7 separate regions of the Homo sapiens genome follow, and regions 1, 2, 3, 4, 5 and 7 are each linked to region 6. The links are contacts of gene promoters, found by promoter capture Hi-C in blood cells and fetal thymus (Javierre and others, 2016). All regions are on one chromosome and are shown on one strand. Each heading gives the region's core, a stretch centred on a gene start or on the middle of the fragment in contact. The rest is flanking DNA. Distances are from core to core; before and after follow the strand shown.

What was found. Contacts are between HindIII fragments. The CHiCAGO score rates a contact against its expected background, and 5 or more counts as called.
Region 1: a fragment that was not itself captured here is called in contact with the fragment with the promoter of DYNC1I2 in region 6 in 1 of 17 cell types (non-activated CD4 T cells); the score reaches 5.8 in non-activated CD4 T cells.
Region 2: the fragment with the promoter of ITGA6-AS1 here is called in contact with the fragment with the promoter of DYNC1I2 in region 6 in 10 of 17 cell types (fetal thymus, naive CD8 T cells, naive CD4 T cells and 7 more); the score reaches 12.0 in fetal thymus.
Region 3: a fragment that was not itself captured here is called in contact with the fragment with the promoter of DYNC1I2 in region 6 in 1 of 17 cell types (non-activated CD4 T cells); the score reaches 5.5 in non-activated CD4 T cells.
Region 4: a contact is called between a fragment that was not itself captured here and the fragment with the promoter of DYNC1I2 in region 6, in 2 of 17 cell types (naive CD8 T cells and non-activated CD4 T cells). The highest score is 6.5, in naive CD8 T cells.
Region 5: a contact is called between a fragment that was not itself captured here and the fragment with the promoter of DYNC1I2 in region 6, in 1 of 17 cell types (naive CD4 T cells). The highest score is 5.0, in naive CD4 T cells.
Region 7: a fragment that was not itself captured here is called in contact with the fragment with the promoter of DYNC1I2 in region 6 in 6 of 17 cell types (fetal thymus, naive B cells, naive CD4 T cells and 3 more); the score reaches 9.0 in fetal thymus.

What each region holds. Positions count from the first base shown.
Region 1 is chr2:172,571,837-172,574,536 of GRCh38, forward strand. The region is part of intron 8 of PDK1 (pyruvate dehydrogenase kinase 1); the gene reads left to right. Among named protein-coding and RNA genes, the nearest start is that of PDK1-AS1, 17 kb to the left of the region's middle. The HindIII fragment of the contact is 7,478 bases long and covers 1-2,700 here.
Region 2 is chr2:172,464,658-172,467,357 of GRCh38, forward strand. ITGA6-AS1 (ITGA6 and PDK1 antisense RNA 1) reads right to left here and starts at 1,365. Exons shown (of 2, transcript NR_157573.1): 1 at 1,167-1,365. ITGA6 (integrin subunit alpha 6) reads left to right here. Exons shown (of 26, transcript NM_000210.4): 2 at 882-1,006. The region is part of intron 3 of PDK1-AS1 (PDK1 and ITGA6 antisense RNA 1); the gene reads right to left. RefSeq lists an enhancer at 1,606-1,775. The HindIII fragment of the contact is 13,641 bases long and covers 1-2,700 here.
Region 3 is chr2:172,512,254-172,514,953 of GRCh38, forward strand. All of the region lies in intron 1 of PDK1-AS1 (PDK1 and ITGA6 antisense RNA 1), which reads right to left. Among named protein-coding and RNA genes, the nearest start is that of PDK1, 42 kb to the right of the region's middle. The HindIII fragment of the contact is 3,528 bases long and covers 1-2,700 here.
Region 4 is chr2:172,590,935-172,593,634 of GRCh38, forward strand. PDK1 (pyruvate dehydrogenase kinase 1) reads left to right here. Exons shown (of 11, transcript NM_002610.5): 10 at 2,001-2,114. Among named protein-coding and RNA genes, the nearest start is that of PDK1-AS1, 36 kb to the left of the region's middle. RefSeq lists a silencer at 1,004-1,211. The HindIII fragment of the contact is 4,568 bases long and covers 1-2,700 here.
Region 5 is chr2:172,665,073-172,667,772 of GRCh38, forward strand. It overlaps a transcript of PDK1 not described here. Among named protein-coding and RNA genes, the nearest start is that of RAPGEF4, 69 kb to the right of the region's middle. The HindIII fragment of the contact is 2,247 bases long and covers 260-2,506 here.
Region 6 is chr2:171,686,218-171,688,917 of GRCh38, forward strand. It overlaps DYNC1I2 (dynein cytoplasmic 1 intermediate chain 2), which reads left to right and starts at 1,252. Exons shown (of 18, transcript NM_001378.3): 1 at 1,252-1,410. RefSeq lists an enhancer at 1,253-1,422. The HindIII fragment of the contact is 4,493 bases long and covers 1,100-2,700 here.
Region 7 is chr2:172,548,663-172,551,362 of GRCh38, forward strand. All of the region lies in intron 1 of PDK1-AS1 (PDK1 and ITGA6 antisense RNA 1), which reads right to left. Among named protein-coding and RNA genes, the nearest start is that of PDK1, 6.1 kb to the right of the region's middle. RefSeq lists enhancers at 169-911, 912-1,653. The HindIII fragment of the contact is 2,623 bases long and covers 41-2,663 here.

The DNA.
Region 1 (2,700 bases), core at 163-2,662, 890 kb after region 6:
TTTTTTTTTTTTTGAGATGGAGTCTTGCTCTGTTGCCCCAGGGTGGAATGCGGTAGTGTGATCTCGCCCACTGCAACCTCTGCCTCCTGAGTTCAAGTGATTCACCTGCCTCAGCCTCCCGAGTAGCTGGGATAACAGGCACCCGCCACCACGCCTAGCTAATTTTTTGTATTTTAGTAGAGACAGGGTTTCACCATATTGGCCAGGCTGGTCTCGAACTCGACCTCGTGTTATCCGCCTGCCTCGGCCTCCCGAAGTGCTGGGATTACAGGCATGAGCTACTGCACCTGGCCTAATGTTTACATTTTAAACAGTAAATATTACCTTTCTGTTATAGTAGTTGAGGAGTTAGCTCTCTTTAATAGAGCACCTGCTCCCCTCCCCTCCCCTAGCCCAAGGGCCAGTTTCCCTATACTATTATCCCAATATTTAAGTTTGTATATGAAATTCGAAGCTGAGAATAATCATCCTGCAAAATTTTGAAGGCATCCATTGTTCCTTTTTTAAAAAAGGTACAATTCAGTGGAATTCATAAGGTTATTCAAGTATTGCCGCTGTCTCATTTTAGAACATTTTCATCAGTCCTAAGAAAAAACCCAAGTACTCCGTCAGGCACAGCAGCTCATGCCTGTAATCCCAGCACTTTGGGAGGCCAAGTTGGGCAGATTGCCTGAGGTAAGGCGTTTAAGACCAGCCTGGCCAACATGGTGAAACCCCATCTCTACAAAAAATACAAAAAATTAGCTGGGTGTGGTGGCAGGCGCCTGTAATCCCAGCTATTCAGGAGGCTGAGGCACGAGAATCGCTTGAACCCAGCAGCAGAGGGTGCGGTGAGCCAAGATTGCACCACTGCACTCCAGCCTGGGTGACAGATTGAGACTCCATCTGAAAAAAAGAAAAAAAGGAAAATACGCAGTACCTATGAAGTCACTTCCCGTTTTTCTCTCTTCTAGCCCTTGGCAACCACTGATCTATTTTCTGTTTGTGTATTTCTCTTTCTGGGCATTTTATATAAATTTAATCATGCAGTATGTGGTCTTTTGTTACTGACTTCTTTCACTTAGTATAATGTTATAGTATGCATTTGTACTTCATTCCTTTTTATGACCAAATGATATTCTGTTATATGGATATAACACCTTTGGGTTATCCATTCATCAGTTGATAGACATTTGGTTTGTTTCTATTTTTTGGTTATTATAAATAATATGGCTATGAATGTTTGTGTACAAATTATTGTGTGAACATGTGTTTCAGTTATCTTATGTATATACCTAGGAATTGAATTGCTGAATCATAGGAAACTCTGTTTAACTTGAGAAACTGCCAAACTGTTTTCCAAAGGACCTGCACCATTTTGCATTGTCATCAACAATGTGTGAAGGTTCCTGTTTTACCTCGTCCTTGTCAACAATTGTAGTCTGTCTTTTTTATTATAGACATTATTGTGAGTGTGAAGTGGTATCTCAGTGTGGTTTTTATTTGCATTTGTCTAATGACTATGATGTTGAGCATCTTTTCATTTGCTGATCGGCCATTTGTGTATCTTTGAAGAAATGTAGATTAAGATCCTTTTTTCAGTTTTAAAATTGGCTGTCTTTTATTGTTGAGTTGTAACGGTTCTCTCTCATGTATATGTGTATATATATATAGGGATTCTATGTGTGTGTATATATATACACACACATACATATACATATATACATACATATGTGTATATATACGCATATATACATATATGTGTGTGTATATATATACACCCTATATATATTCTATTTGTGTGTATATATTCTATGTGTGTGTATATATATATACACTCTCTCTAGATATATATATATGTATATAGGGGTTACTAGTCCCTGATGAGATGTATGATTTGCAAGTATATTCTCCCATTCCGTGGGTTCTTTTCACTTTCTTGATAGTATCCTTTGAAGTACAAAGTTGTGTTTTTTTGTTTTTTGCTTTTTTAAATAGAGATGGGGTCTTGCTATGTTGCCCAGGCTGGTCTTGAACTCCTGAACTTAAGCAGTCCTCCCACCTTGGCCTCCCACAGTGCTGGGATTACAGGTGTGAGTCACCACACCCAGCCAAAGTTTTTAGTTTTGAAAATTTTCAATTTTTTTTTCACATTGCATGTGATTTCAGTTTTATGTCTAAGAAACCATTGCCTACTCCAAAGTCTTGACGACTTATGCCTATGTTTCTAAGAGTTTTATAGTTTTAGCTTTTATATTTAGGTCTTCGATCCATTTTGAGTTAAGTTTTGTACATGGTTTGAGGTAGAGGTTCATCTTCATTCTTTTGCATGTGGATATCCAGTTGTCCCAGTACTATTTGTGAAAAACCTATTCTTTCCCCATTCAATTGCCCTGTCACCCTTGTCAAAAATCAATTGCTCATAAATGTATGGGATTTATTTCTGGATTTTCAGTTCTATTTCATTGATGTATATATCTCTCGTTATGCAAGTACTTAATGCCTGTCTCAATGATTGTAGCTTTAAGTTTTGAAATTTGCAAGTGTGAGTCCTACAACTTCTTTTTCAAGATTATTTTGGCTGTTATGGGTTCTTGCATTTCCATGGGTTTTAGGATCAGCTTGTCAATTTCTGCAAAAAAACAATGCCAGCTAGAATTTTGATGGGCATCATTTGGGAAGTGTTGCCATCTTAGAGTTAACAATATTAACTCTTCTAAT
Region 2 (2,700 bases), core at 115-2,614, 780 kb after region 6:
GTGAAATTTTAAGGACTGTGGATTTGGACTGGGGGCCTCCTTATAGGAGATAAAAACACTCGGCTGGGGAGAAGAAGGAATATTACAGTGCCTAGTACATAAGTGGAGCTACACCAGTTGTCCCTGAATCCTTTGTGGGAGACTGATAGGATGAGAGAGGACGAACTCTTGTAATGTGACAAAAGTGCAAGGAAGTAAGAACTGACTTGGAAGAACAAACATCAACTTGTACACCTCAAATATATCTGCTTTTTATTTGTCCATTCTACCCTAATAAAACTGGAGGGAAAAAAAAAAAAGAATTGGAAAGAGGCCAAGGCTGCAAGTGAATAATTCAGTCGAGTTGTATCTTACTTACCATTAGGTTCTCTCAATTAGTATATAAACTGAAAATCTAAGATATAGTCAGAATTACCCTTGAAAACTACCTCAGGAAGGCACAGTGTTAGAAACTGACATATTATTGCTTATTACATTTAGTGTGGCCATTTTTTCCTTCCATTGTCACAAGTATTTGGTTTCTTCTCTTGAGTTTCATATGATATCCCTGGCATCATAGGGGCTTAGAGGTTGTATTCTTTGAAGAGGGTGTCTTTTAAACACCAGATCATACCCAGCAAGAAATGCTGATACTATGAGAGACAGGCCTATTTTCCTCGTTTTGGTATCCCCTCTTTGGCTTCCCCTGTTTAGTTGTGTTTGTGCGTTTTGCATGAACCAGCCATAGGACTCTACATTTGTTCTCACTCACTGCCTAAGCTGTTGAAGAATTAGTGGACTCCTAGACAAAGAATAATCCCACTATCTCCTAGTTCTGACTGATTTAACTGTTAAACGTATATTAAATTCAAATCTCCAAATTGTCTCTGTTTCATCAACAGGTTGCTCGTGGGGGCCCCGCGGGCAGAAGCGCTTCCACTGCAGAGAGCCAACAGAACGGGAGGGCTGTACAGCTGCGACATCACCGCCCGGGGGCCATGCACGCGGATCGAGTTTGATAACGATGGTGCGTTCCTTTCCCTCACTCAGCGTTCACTCCGGCAGCTTGCCTGTACTGTTTCCATGAGGGAGGAGAGTGGGGACAAACATTTATTCTTGTAGAGAGGACTTCTTTTAATTGCATCAGACTTGACTGTTTTTTATTTGCCCTGAAAATATTTACTTACTTTACTTCTGAATCATACTGGGATGCCGCGTGTTTTGCTGCTCCTCCTAACCGTGGTTTCTAAACCGATATGGTGTAGGGATGTTGCCACCTAGTGATGTGTTGAGGTTCTGCAGGAGGTTGTGGAAAAACTCATTTCATAGCAATGAAGAGAATGAATGAGCGTATCTTGTATTCATCAGCCAAAAGTTCTCACATGCTGTTAAAATATTTGGGAGAAAGACAGTTTTAAATATCAGACCCCTTTGGAATGAGAGCTGGCTAACAGAGATAAAGTTTTCCCTCCTGTCTCAGATAGAGACTTGTTTTGTTAAGGGCTCTGGATAGGTAGAAGATACCATGAGGTAGGCATGTTGACATCCAGTGTACCTGGCTTCTTGTAGGTTGAGCAGAGCAATTAGTGTACTGAGAAGCTCTAGCCAAACCTCGTTTGATATGTTCGGTCTAAGTAGATTTGCAGATTCGTGTCTATGTTCTTCTCTTGCTTCTTCATCTTTTAGAAATAACATTTGTTGGCCAGGCGTCGGTGGCTCACACCTGTAATCCTAGCATTTTGGGAGGCCGAGTTGGGTGGATCATTTGAGGTCAGGAGTTCAAGACCAGCCTGGCCAACATGGTGAAACCCCATCTCTACTAAAAATACAAAAATTAGCCAGGCGTGGTGGTGTACGCCTGTAGTCCTAGCTACTTAGGAGGCTGAGGCGTGAGAATTGTTTGAACCTGGGAGGCAGAGGCTGCAGTGAGCCAAAATCGTGCCACTACACTCCAGCCTGGGTGACAGAGCAAGATACCATCTCAAGAAAAGAAATAACATGTGTTCTTTTATTAGAAACTAATATGTGTTAATTTTAAGAAGCTGGTAAAATACACAGACCTATGAAGAATAAAAAAACCCACTGGCAATCTCAGTATCTAGACTTATTTTTTAACATTTTGGCATTTTTCCTTCTGTCTAAAGTTGTTTAATGTTTTTGTAATGATTCAAGATTAAAACCTGTGTCTGTATTGCTACTTATGGAGGAGTGCAAAATTTGGATATAGGTCACACAGTGGGTTTAAATTGATACTGAAATGAGCACCTGGTGGTGTTTGTGGTCCCCGTCTCTCTGACTAACAGTAACTCTCCTGTTTGGCATTGATACATTGTCAGCTACAAGATCCTAAAGTAAATCTGAGTCTTTTTCTTCCATCTCCAGTAAAGAAGAGAACATTTAATGCTGTTAAATAAAAAAATTGGGGAGTATATAGAGAAGTACCCATTTTTTTTGTTAGTTTGGATGGTAGCTGCAGTTTGGAATACTAGATTTTACATTGTTGCCTTAAGAGATGTATTTTGGAGGGCTCCCTTAGTCTTACAGTTTCACTTACCTTCTGCATTCAGGACCCTAGGTATCAAGAGAGGGCAAAGGGTATTGTTGGACAAAATAGGCAACTATATAGAGCTAAGTACTTTATGTTTCAAATGTTTGAAAGATTCCAAAAACCACATCTCTGTTTCCTTGAGATGACAAGTAATTTTTCTGGATTGAGTAACT
Region 3 (2,700 bases), core at 6-2,505, 830 kb after region 6:
TCAGCCTCCCAAAGTGCTGGGATTACAAGAGTGAGCCACCGCACACGGCTGAAATAAATTTAATTCTATGACTTGCATACCTGTTCACTTGAGATCTGAAAGATGGACTCATGGTGGCTGTTTCTCCTAGCAAGCATGGCACAGAGCCCCAGGATTCAATGTTGAGTGTCTTCCAGCTTTCTAAGCCATCATCAGAGAAGGATTGTGACCTCTTGATTCCATTTTCTTGACCTTCGATTGCAACTTCAAGTATTTGCCTTCAACCCTATTTTGAAAAATAAAAATGAAATCCTAAGCCCCCCAACCAAATAAATGGACCCCCTCTTTGCCACAGGGACCCCAGAGTAATTTTGAAAACCTGAATTTAAGGGATGCTGCATCTCCCTTTTGGGGTTTTGACACAACAATTGACCAGCATTTCTTCCTAATAAGAGACCACTGACCACAGAGTGGCTCTGGCTAGTGTACATGTGACTCATGAAGGGGCATGAAGCCCCATTGCATATATGCACATTTCTCCTTTTGTAAATATTCATGATTCCTATTGCTGGCCACTCTGTTCAGCATAGACTCCTGTTCCCTTTGCCCCTCCCTCAAAGTATCTGTTTCTAGCTCCTGGCCAGAGGCTATCCTTCCCAGTGTCAGAATGGTCACCCTGCCAGCTGCAAACTTTTATGAAAAATAAAGCTCTCCTTTCCAAATTTATAAACTTTGTAACCAACCAATAGGTTCTCCTTGCCTACTGCCCAGATAGAGCCAATTTATCAAGACAGGGGATTGCAATAGAGAAAGAGTTTAATGCATGCCTCTGGGGATTCAGTCAGGATGGTGGGGAAAATTATAAGACGCAAACCTTCTTGGAAGGCCTGGGGGAGATGCATAAGCTCCAGTAATAAACTTGGCTGAAGGCAGCCTTGTCCCCTTAGTTAAGTAAATTAAAGTAGAAACAAAGGAATGTGCGGAGTTTATCTAACTAGCTTGTTTACTCATGTGGTCCTAAGACTAACCTTTGATTTACTGTGGGTGCTTAACTGATTTCTACTCAGGAGGTCCACAATGTCAACTACCCTCTAGTGGTGTTTACTCACGACCTTTGTCAATTAACCTTTACTGAATAAATGCAAGTCTCACTGACTGATCAAGGCCGCAGTCACAACTGTTTACAGCACTCTGCTTGTAGTCTGTAAGCAGCCTGGACACTCAGCTGGACTGGCAAAGCAGCATATCTGTGTGTCAGTGTACTTTATTCATCCGTTGTTGGGTCAGGGTCTGTGGGACAGACTCCGCAGCTGGTGCCCTGTGTGGGGATCGCTGTGAAGGGAGCGCGACAGACCCCCAGAAATGAAGGTGGAGAGGACTGGCGGTCAAGTCAGTAAAACAGTGAGTCATTGGTGCCTGCTTGGGATTACCAAGTTTGGGGGGGTGGGGGATTGTTCAGGCTGAGATTTCATCATGGGACAATAGTTATCAGTTCAACAAAGACAGTACATAAAAGTGTTGAAACAGTTACTTAAGGCTAGGGGAGCATCAGTTTTGCAGGCTCAATTAAGAGACCCAATGCAAACTGTTGTCTCACTTAATCCATGGTTCCCAGAAGAAGGACCGCTAGATGTAGAGGTCTGGGAACAAGTGGGGAGAAATATTAAACAACGTTATGCACAAGGGCAATGTGTCCCAGTAACAGCTTTTAATGCTATGGGCTTTAATTAGAGCAGCCCTAGTTCCGTTATACACAGAAGAGCCTAAAAAGGGGAAGGAGGAGGAACCGTCACCTATCTTATCGCCTCCTCTTCCCTCAGCCCTGATATTACTGGGCCAAAATAACAAAGAGGAAACAGAAGTTGTGCCTGAGCCACCTCCTCCAATAGATAAGAAAAAAAAAACAAAACAAGAGATACACTACAGCTATGAAACCCTGTCTTAAGCAGGCAGCATTAAAAGGGGAGCTCTTAGCCTGCCCAATAATGCAAAATCAGCAAGGCAATCAGGTACCTAAAGAGTTGTTAAAAAAAAGCATTAGAGGCCAAAGCCAGGCGGCCAAGCGAGCAGTAAGCAGAAGGAGAGACTTGGCAGAGAGGAAGTTCGGGAAACCAAAGCCAGCAAGTGCTCCCAGGAACTCTGTCCACACGGAGGCAGCGGCAACAAACAGCCAGGCCCAGTGCTTGGAAGTTAGCCTGTTAGAGAGAGGCAGGAGGCGCATGTGGGAAAGTCGGCCCAGTGGGCAACAGCCACTGGGCAGCGGGGGTAGGAAGTGGCACAGGCGAAAAGCGGCACAGAAAAAAGCAGCGCTTTTGCAAGCGCAACACAGCTGCCACTCCAGGACCAGTCTGCTTAGCTCTCCAGCTCTGCAGGTGGCCCACGGCAAAATTTCATGTGCTCCTTGTAGACAAGAGACATCCCAAATTATAATTCTATGCTAAGATTTAAGTAAAATTTAATAATTTGAAAAACCTCTTTCTGATAATGGGCACTGTTATCTCTCTCTTACCCCTAACTCTCTCCAAATCCAATTTAAGTAAAACTGTAACCTCTAAAGGGAGAGAAATTACAAACGGCCCATGAGTTAGTTAAGGAGCAGTTAAAGCAAACTTTACTCCCCAGTAGAAAACAAAAACAAAAACAAAACAAAAACAAAAAAACTTCCTGATTACAAGGTTATTCATTTTATGGATAATATTCTCCTAACAGCCCTTGGAGTTC
Region 4 (2,700 bases), core at 111-2,610, 900 kb after region 6:
AGTATACCCCAACTGTTGTTGGGAATTGGGCGATGACCGCTGTAGCTACTTCTTGCTGGATAGGGGCAAAGAAGGGGCCCTGCAGTTGTAGTGTCCTCCAGAGGGGAACTCTTTAGGCCAGTGAAAGGGCCAGCGGGTCAGTCCAGGGGTCCTTGATAGAAGTTGTTAGTTGAGTTCATTTGGGATTCCATTTGTAAGACCATCTATAGCTTGATGGCCTTGATTCTAGAGGAAACAAATTTGACAAGGAGGTTAAAAATACAGGGTCCGAAGGTGAGTAATAGCAAGATGGCTGTCACAGGACCTAGAAAGGGGAGAAGCCATGTTGCCCAACTCCAGAGGTTGGTATAAGAGTTTGAAAGGTGTTGTCTGATTTCGGAAGACTTTTCCTGTAAACGCCGGGCGGCATCTCATACTATCCCTGACTGGTTAGTGTAAAAACAACATTCTTCTCCTAAGAAGGTGCAGAGTCCTCCATTCTCAGCAGTGAGGAGGTTTAGGCCTTGGCGGTTTTGGAGAGTCACTGCTGCCAAAGAGTCTATTTGGGATTGTAGAGTAAGGATAGATTTCGTTATTTCTTGCAAACTGTCTAAGAAATCCTTTGAGAGTGTTTGGTAGTAGGATAATGAAGTAGATAAACTGGCTGTTCCGGTTCCTGTAGCAGTGGCCATTTCTAACTCTGTAAGTAGGGGTATTAGTTGTATGGCCCTGCGCTGATGGACTTGAGCTTTGAGGGGCACTGATAGGGTCTGATTTCCATAAGATTAGAAGTTAAGATAATAAATGTTACACTGTTAACTTTTAGCAAACTTTACTTTTGTTGAAAACCTTGTAAGTTTGGAATTTCAATTATTCCTTGCTATTAATAAGACCTCGTTCAGTCCATATTAACTTAAAATTGGTATAGATGGCTCCTTCCTGATTCTGTAAGTACTTTAAGGTTTGGCTGAGTGCAAACAGCTCGCATATTTGAGCAGACCAATTATTAGGCAATTTTCCTAACTCTGCTTCTACAATAGTTTCCTTATTACTTACTGAGTACCCATTGTGTCTTTTTCCCTTAATCGCCTGGGAGGAAACATCTATTGTCCTGTCCTGAAGGGAGTTCCTCCTGTGTCTGGTCGGACCTTCAGATTTAGATCCCCTGTTAGGAAACCTGCTGGGTTAAGGATTTTTGATAGGAAAGCTACGGGTTGTCAGTGGTCTCAGTGCTTCCGGGCTATGCCCTTGTTTACACTGACAACAAGGTGGTATTGGAGTGTTATAGGGTTACAGAGAAGACCTTCAATTATCAGTTATAGGTTTTAAATTTACCCTGGCTTTTGAAGGAATAGGGTACACTGTTTTTTCTTTACTACTTCTATCTCTCTTTCTCTTTGACTTCTTTGCCTCTCTCTTTCTGACTCCTCTTTGTCTCTTCCTCTCTCTGACTTTTTGTGTCTCTCTTTCTCTCTCTCTCTGACTCCCTCTTTGTCCCTGTCTCTTCCTCTCTCTGTCTCTGACTTTGTCTCTTTCTTTCTTTCTCTCTGACTCCCTCTTTGTCTCTCTCTTCCTCTGTCTCTCTCTCTGACTTTCTGTCTCTTTCTCTCTTTCCTTTCTGCTGGTCTTTCCCTGCCTCTGCCAGCTGCTTATGCTGCTCTTCTCCCCTCTCCTGGAGAAGTCCGCAGACCAAGAACCCACTGGAAGGAACCAATTCCAGACACAATACGACCGAGCAGGCCAGCAAGGAAAAGCAATATGCTTTTTCGAGACCAACCACAAGTCATTTTATAGAAAGAATAAAGAGTTTTAAATGACCAGAGGGAAGTCAGCTGATACAGTACTCAAGTAAACCTCAGCTTAATCATTGTCAATGCTTAAATATTAATTATATTAAATATAATGCATCTCTCAGATGCGGGCTCTGATAGCCCCGTGGTACTCAATGGCATCTATCTTAATTAGAAAAGTATTTCAGTGTGTGTCTTTCTGAATAGAATTTTGTTTTTCTCATCAAACAGGCTGGTTTTGGTTATGGATTGCCCATATCACGTCTTTACGCACAATACTTCCAAGGAGACCTGAAGCTGTATTCCCTAGAGGGTTACGGGACAGATGCAGTTATCTACATTAAGGTAATAGCTGTAGTCTTCTTGATTTAATATTTCTTTTGATGATAAGAACAGATGTCCATACTTAACTGTAATGAAATTTAACTCTACCACATGCTGTTTAAATAGAAAAAAACTATGGTTTTTTGCTGGGGATCTCACCCATTTTGATAGATGATCCCCTAAAACTATGGGGAAAGAGATTTGTATCCTGGAGTGATTAGGACTCTGTCTATTAATAGGAAAAAAATTGGGTTAAAGTAGAGAATCATAAGTTATATATCATACAAGTTTAATTTTAACATAAAACACATGAATGGACATTGATAACGCCAAACTTTTGATGTACTGCCAAGGCTTTTTTTTTGTATATGGGTCTGCAGATTGGAGTGTCACATTGTCTTTTTTGCAAAAGCTGTACTGACAGTGCATCATTTTAGTTTCTTTAAACCAACAAGTGCATACTCTTTTTGGACTTTTATGCAGTCCTTTACAGATACCTCCTGACTGATTTGACAGCAAGTTTTATGTGACTTTCCTTCATGAGTCTTTCCAAAACATTCATCTTAGTTTTCAAGGAAACATTCCCCTTTTTATTCTTTGCTTATGT
Region 5 (2,700 bases), core at 133-2,632, 980 kb after region 6:
TTTATGTTTCCCTTTTTTCTTGCAGGAACCTAAAATTTCCATCTTTTCTTTTTTAACTCTTCCCACCTAGTGCCAAAGAATGTTTTTTTTTTCTTTTCTTTTTTGTTTCTTTTGTTCTTTCTCAGAACTTTTGGGTTTCAATGATTGCCCCCTTTAAATTGCCCAGACTTCCAAGTTCCTTCCTGAAGTCCATGCTCTGATCTCAGACTAGGGTGGACCTAGACTTTCTAGTGTTAAATCAAACTCAGGATCCTTCACAAGCTTCCCTATTTTGCCTTCCCTGCAGCTCTCTAGGTTTGCTTTTGTTTGCCCTAAGGGCTAGGGTGTGGTGAGGGAATGAGAAATTATGTTCTGAGGACTTATTATTCTCTTTCTATTCATAATTATTTTGAAGTTTGGACATTCTGTCTTTAGGTTATGCTGAAGGTGTGGCTTGCATATAAATTCACTTTTTGTCCTTTGTTTGGATCCATGAAGAGGCAGGTGGCTATGCTGTTGCTGTTGCCTGAGCCTACCCTGAAGCCCCTTAACCTCACTTTTGTTAAAAATTGTAGCAGAAGTGCAATTTGCCTACCAGATTCCTTTTCTCTCTCATTCTTCCTTGATAACAAAACCCCAGTTTGCACAGGAAGAATCAGATATGCAGCGTTGGCATTTTAAAATCTAATTTCTAGGCTCCTGTGACCAAGTAGCACAGTTTGGTCAAACAGACATAAGCAGCAATCGATGGGGTGGGGTTTGTGGAAAAGTCTGAGTGTCTATGGAAATGGTCAGACTGAGCTAGCAAAGCCCTTTGCCCTATTCCTTCCCTCATTTTTCTTCCTGGATCACTCAGACATAACACCTGGAGAAGCAGCAGTTATTTTGTGGCCATAAGCATGAAAGCCAAAAGGTAAGGATGATGGAACAGAAAAATAGTAGGAGCCTGCATATTTGAGGAGCTGGGTCAGCTCTGGATTTCCTCTTCCCAGATTTCTGGTAATATAAGAAATATAAACTTCTTTATTAATTAAGGCCTGATGTTTTAGGTCTCTGTTGAGGGCTGTATATACGATCAATACTTTGATTTACTGAGGCATTTCCTCCTTTGCATTGACAAGATTATCATTTCCACAGCTCAACTTGACTAGGGTCCCACTAACCTACTACACATGCTATTCCTTATGTCTCAGTTGTACGTTAAAAGGCTCAAGATTTACATCAATAGAGGAGTACAGAGAAGACATTCCTGTAGGTATCTTTCTCCAGTAGTCTATACAGATGTTGGAAATAAATTTTCAGTGCCACAAATAAATAGCACTCAAACATAAATTTAATTTTCTCAGCAAGGCAATTTTACTTCTGTAGAAGGGTGTATCTTGTGGATGGAGCAATGGCGAGAGCACACCTGAACAAGGGAGGGGAAGGGGTTCTTATCCCTGACGCAGGTAGCCCCTACTGCTGTGTCGTTCCCCTATTGGCTAGGGTTGGACCACACAGTCTAAGCTAATTCTGATTGGCTATTTTAAAAAGAGCAGGGGTACGAGCTGGAGTGGCAGGGTGACTAGTTTGGTGGGAAGGATGGTTACAGAACAGGTGACTCAGGGTGACTAAGAACAGAGCAGGTGACCAAAGATGACTAAGGTCAGAGTAGGTGACCGGGGTGACTAAGGTCAGAGCAGGTGATAGAGGCTAGAAGGGGGTTATTTACTGAAACTAGGGGCAAGAGACGTAAAGAATGAGGAAGTTTAAAATGAAGAACAAAGAACAAGAGAGCTGAACATACTGATACATTAGTTCTTTGGAGAGGATCTCAGAACTCATTGTACTTAACAATTTACTGGCTAAAACCTTTGAAGAGGAATTTATTATATCCTACGCAGACACAGAAAGTTTTGTTGTGAAGAAAGAAATTTTAATTTTTTAATTTTTTATTTGTATAAATCTAAGGGGTGCAGTTTTGTTACGTGGATATATTATGTAGTAGTGAAGTCTGGGCTTTTCGTGTAACCATCATTCAAATAATGTACATTGTACTCATTAGGTAGTCTCTCATCTCTCACCCACTCTCACCCTTTCACCCTTTCAAGGGAACTAGAAAAAGGAAGACATTTTTAATACTCACATATTCCTAGAAAACAGAAGCAGGACCTCTAGGGAAGTAGGACTGGGGTGGTCAGAAAGCAGAGGGAATGAGAGGGAAATGTGGGAAAGGGCCTTTATTGTGGTTGTCTGCAGAAGGAACAGGCAAGACAGAGTGAGCAGGTTTAGAATGAACTATTTTGAATAATTTCAGCAAGGTCTGGGGCAATGGGGCTGTCCCTAGTTGCCTGGTACCTGGCCCAGGGGTGATTAGGAGAGGGATACAGTTTCACAGAGTATAAGAACCAAATAAAGAAGGTGATTGGTAATGTAGGCTCTGAATTAGTTGGTTTGCATATGAAAGGTGCAAACATTTGCTATCTCTGGAAATTAGCTAACCCTGGGAAGGACAAATCCTCCAGGTCAGCAACTCCCTGGATGTGAAAGCTTCAAATTCAGAAACTAGAAAAGCATGGTTTTCGCAAATATTACTGCAATGACCTCAGTTTCTTGTAAAGACCATCTGATAAAACATTCTTGTCAGATATAAGCTAATTCATAAGGTAATTCTGTATTCTGTAGTGCTCTCTACTAAGTACACATATTACAATTTACATCACCATCACATACTAACACAGC
Region 6 (2,700 bases), core at 2-2,501:
TCCTGCCTCAGCCTCGTGACTAGCTAGGACTACAGGCGCATGCCACACACCCTGCTAATTTTTCTATTTTTTGTAGAGACGGGGTTTCACCATGTTGCCCAGGCTGGTCTCTAAGTCCTGAGCTCAGGTGATCTGCCTGCCTCGGCCTCCCAAAGTGCTGGGATTACAGGTGTGAGCCACTGCGCCTGGTCCATTTTAGCTGTTACCACAACACCCATCACCATTGCTGGCACATGGTAGGCAATCAATAATAATTTTTTTTCAAATTAATACATGAAAACTATTAGGAAAGAAGTAAAAAAATAACATAGCTATAAAGCTCTTTGAATGTTAGGTTATTGGGAAAAGCTGTGGAAAGCCAAGGATTTTCTTTCTCAAATTTATTTTTAGAATATTTTTTTCTACACAAAAGACCACAGATAAGGCAGAGAAAGATAAGAAAAAGACCACAAGCCCAAGGACTTGGAATTTGAATCATAAAGGTTCATTCTAGACTTGGGCAATATCTAGAACTTCTAGAACAATCAGTTTTCTAGAACATAGAAAAGATATTACCTTGGTGTTAGCTTTAACTCCTGCCAAATAATGCTTTAAATTATTTAAACTTTAAAAAGGTGTGTCAATGTATACATTGCAGGTAAATTCATGTTCCAGTAACTTTTGTTTTCTTTGTATGTTAAAAATCTAACTGTGGAAAACATTCTAGCTTGGTTTGAGAGTCCAATAATACAAAATGCTTTATTTCCTAAAATTGTTTGAGAGAAAACCAAAATGCTACCACACTGCAACAAAATACTAAAGAATTATTTGCTATGTCAGTTGACATATTTTTATTTAGATTTTGCCTAAGATGCCACATGAAGCCTATATAAGACATTCTTTCCCTAAAACTTACATATGTATGTACATATATATATATAATGTTTTACATCCTAAACAGTCTACTTCACGTCTTCACCAAATGTGCAGCAGCGTGATTCACAGGTTCACCACTGGAAAATAGACCTTAAAATTCCGCCAATATTGGGTCAAAGATCTTACACTATAACACATACTACACTGTGGGCACGGATCAACAGACGAGAATACTTTATACAGAAGCTTCTCGACGGAAGAAGGCCTTGGAGTGGGAAATCTAAAGGAGGGGACACACTACATGTCCCAGCACACCTTGCGACGCCCAGCGACCACAATTCCCAGAACGCACTGCTCGTCGCACGCAGGTTTTCCTTGTTGCCGGGGTTTGTAGTTCTTCTCGATCGTGTCAGTTTGTAAGGCGAGGGCGGAAGTTGGATTCCTGGCCTGAGAATATTAGGCGTAGTTTTCCAGTTTTTGGCAAAGCGGAAATACTTAAGGCCCCTGGGTTGACTGGGTTCTTTGTTTTATCTACCGGCTTCTGCTTTACGACAGGTAAGTCACGGAGGGGCTACAATTCCTCGCAGCAGGGCCCCACCTTTTATTTCTGGGAGCGACCTCGTTCTGGTGAGGCTATTTGTCCCTAAGCTCTCGCCGTAGCAGCCGCCGCCCATCCCTCTTTGTGTGCTTTGGAAAGCCGCGGAGCTGGTGGTGGCTACAGTTGGTGTTGGGGGCTTAGGCGAGGGACGTTACCGGGAAGTTGCAGGCGGGAGGACTCTTCCCCATCCAGTCACCTGACAGGTGGGTTGACTGTTCTTCCCTCAAGGCCTCCCTGCCTGTGTTCCACGTCGCAACTCGAAGGGCGGCTTGGCAGTTCCTGCTGACATCCCCGCCCGGCCCAGCTTTGGGGAGGAAAGGCGGGGAGACCTGGGTGCGGTGACTCATTGCGGCCCGGCGAGAGGAGTCCACTCCTTTCCCTTCTCGACCCTCCAGAGGCGGCCTGGGGAGCCTTGAGGCTTGTCCGGCGCCCACTGGCTTCTTCCGGACGCCCTGCCGTGGACCGCGCCCTCTTGGCCGTGACCCCAGGGGAGAAAGTGATTCGTTTTCGCCTTGCCCCATTTTACAAATTAAGGCCATCTCTACTTGCCTTGATAGTGTCTCCCCTCACCTTATGTGTGATGGAAAGCCCCCGAACACGGAGGTTCTAGCACAAAACTCTAGAGACTCTCTTCTCTTGAGTTTTAAGAACGTGAACATGTCGGTCATGGAGGAAGGCTCTGGCTTCTGTGAGGATGAGAGGATTGGTCAGCTGTAGTTCAGCTGGTCAAGACTTTGTTGTTGGGCTTTAAAAATGCGCTTATTTTAATATCAATTAGTGTTGGTATATCTGTTTTACAGTTGACGTTGAACAAAATATAATGTGCCTAGCGTAGCATACAGTTACGTATGGAAGTTCTCTTCACCAGCCGTTTGTATGGAGCTGTTTAGAGGTGTAGAAAGAGTGGAATAAGAAACACGGTCTCTTGCTTTTAGTTTGTTCAAACAAATCTTGGAAGATATTGTGTATATATTTCAGGTCTGCTATGTCAACTTTTCATCCTTTTCGTATGCTTGAAAATTATCAATTCGCTTGCCAGTCTTAATGGAGTTTAGTAGCTGAAATTTCCTTTATCCACTTCTTAGTAGGTGAATTTCTCCTCTTGACTGACTTACCTTTGTTCAGATTTAACAATTGTGCTTTTTAAGAGATTTCCCCTAACCTCTGGAAATACAGTTTTCCAGAGGTTATTCTCCTAGTTTTCTTGATCTAAAGCATTTAATACTTCACTTGTACAGAGACATTGA
Region 7 (2,700 bases), core at 102-2,601, 860 kb after region 6:
CTCCTTTCGGACTTAGCCCGCCTGCACCCAGGTGATTAAAAGCTTTATTGCTCACACAAAGCCTGTTTGGTGGTCTCTTCACACAGATGTGAGTGAAAACCATTGCACCTCTGAAAGGATTAACAAAATAAAATAAGTATTTGGTTATTCTGCCCCTCCTTAGTTGGTTTACCCAATGAGCTTCTCCCTTGTAAACCAAAAATAAAATTCGGCTGGGGCAGTGGCTCAGGCCTGTAATCCCACCACTTTGGGAGGCGAGGTGGGCAAATCATCTGAGGTCAGTAGTTCAAGACCAGCCTGACCAACAGGGTGAAACCCCATCTCTACTAAAATTACAAAAATTAGCCAGGTGTGGTGGCACATACTTGTAATCACAGCTACTCGGGAGGCTGAGGTTGGAGAATCACTTCAACCCAAGAGGCGGAGGTTGCAGTGAGCTGAGATCATGCCACTACACGTCAGCCTGGGCAACAGAGTGAGACTCTGTCTCAAAAAATATATATATTCTAAACCCTCCAACCAACTGAATGGACCCCTCCTTTTGGCCAAGAGCATTCCAAAGTTAACCTGAGAAACTAGTTCAGGCCATGATGGGAAGGCGGGGTCAGACATGTCTCATTATTCTGTCCTCCCTTCTGGAATTTAGGTACAGCTGACCAGCATTAACATTAACATAGAGATTTTACATCTGACAAAACAGACTGTTTGTAGCCTAAGATACCAACATGACAAGGAGCAGGTTCTGCAAGAAACTAAAGATTTTATCCCAAAATATATTTCTTGACATATTTTGAAATGGCCCTGCAAAGCTGTCTCTTGTGGGGAAAATCTACATTCTACAGAGAATCCTCTTCCCTTTCCAAGTACTTTCCCTGATTCAGAAGGGAATTAACTAACTCTGGCACCTTTTTAAAGTCTGATAAGAAACAGTTACAAGGTTGGGCACAGTGGCTCACGTCTGTAATCCCAGAACTTTGGGAGGCCGAGGACTCCCAAACTCTGTAAAATATTTGAAGAGATTTATTCCGAGCCAAATATGAGTGACCATGGCCCCGTGACACAGCTCTCAGGAGGTCCTCAGAACATGTGCCCAAGGTGATTGGGGCACAGTTTGGTTTTATACATTTTAGGGAGGCATGAGACATCAATCAAATACATTTAAGAAATACATTGGTTTAGTCCTGAAAGGTAGGACAATTCAAAGTTGGGGCTTCCAGGCTATAGGTAAATTTAAACATTTTCTGATTTACAATTGGTTGAGTTTATCTAAAGACCTGAGATCACAGAAAGGAAATGTTCAGGTTAAGATAAAGGATTGTGGAGACCAAGGTTCTTTTGAAGTTTTATTGTGGCTGCCCTCAGAGACAACAGATGACAAACGTTTCCTATTCAGATCTTTAAAAGGTGCTAGACTTTAAGTTAATCTTTTTAGGATTGGGAGGGCCTGGAAGTAAAAGATCTAGCTATGTTAATAGAGATTCTTTACTGATGCAAATTTTCCCCCACAAAAGACAGATTTGCAGGGCCATTTCAAGATATGGCAAAAAAACATGTTTTGGGATAAAATATTTTGCTTTTCTTCCTTGTCATGTAATGTTATTCCAGAGTCAGGGTGAAAAGTAAGTCTCGATATATAGGGTTAAATAAAACCCATCTGATGAGAATTTATGGTTTGTAGGGCATGACTCCCCAGAACTCTTAGATAGGAATTTGGGCAAGATAAAAAAATCAGAATTTACTCCTCAGTAGCAACACATGACAGATAGCAGGTCCTGAAATAAACTGAAGTGTTTTACTACAAAACATATTTTTTTGACATATTTTGAACTAGCCCTGCAAAGCTATTTCTTCTGGGGAAAATCTATATTCTGTAGAGGATCCCCTTCCCTTTCCAGGTTTTTCCTTTTAAGGTCTGACACCTTTTTAGGTCTGATAAGAGACATTTACTATCTGTTCTCTCTGAAGCCTGCTATGTGGGACCTTTATCTGTGTAATAAGAATCTTGGTCTCCACAACCCCTTGTCTTAATCCAGACACTCCTTTCAATTGATCCTAGGTCTTGAGATAGTAACTTAACTCTTTCAACCAATTGCCAGTCAGAAAATCTTTGACTCTCCCTATAACCTGGAAGCCCCCTCCTGCCACAAGTTTCCCAATCCCCCTATATTACGTCTTAAAGTTGTCCTGCCTTTTCAGACCAAAGCAGTGTACGCTTTACATGTACTGAGTGATGTCTGCCTGCAACTTCTGTTCCCCTAAAACTGTACACAATCAAGCTATGACCCGACCACCTTGGGCACATGTTTTCAGGACCTCTTGGGACTGTGCCTCAGGCCTTGGTCACTCACATTTGGCTCGGAATAAATCTCTTAAAATATTTTACAGAGTTTGAGTCTTTTTTTTAAATCAACAGTTCAAATAAATTTTTAAAACTTTTAATGTGCCCAAATTTATCTTTTAACATTACCAGTCTCAGTTTGTGAAAGTCTAGAGTTCTCCCTGTCCATGTCTGTAAATTCTTGAGGCTCATAGTCTCATTTATAGTACCCCCCACCCCACCACCACTCAGACTCTTTGTGTGCAAAGTCTATCTCCATTGCCACAAACTCTCATAAAAAAAATTCATCCTTTCCTCCAATTTTCACAAAAGCACAACACATAAAAGCTTCAGTATCCAATAATCTCTCTTTTTTTGCAAAC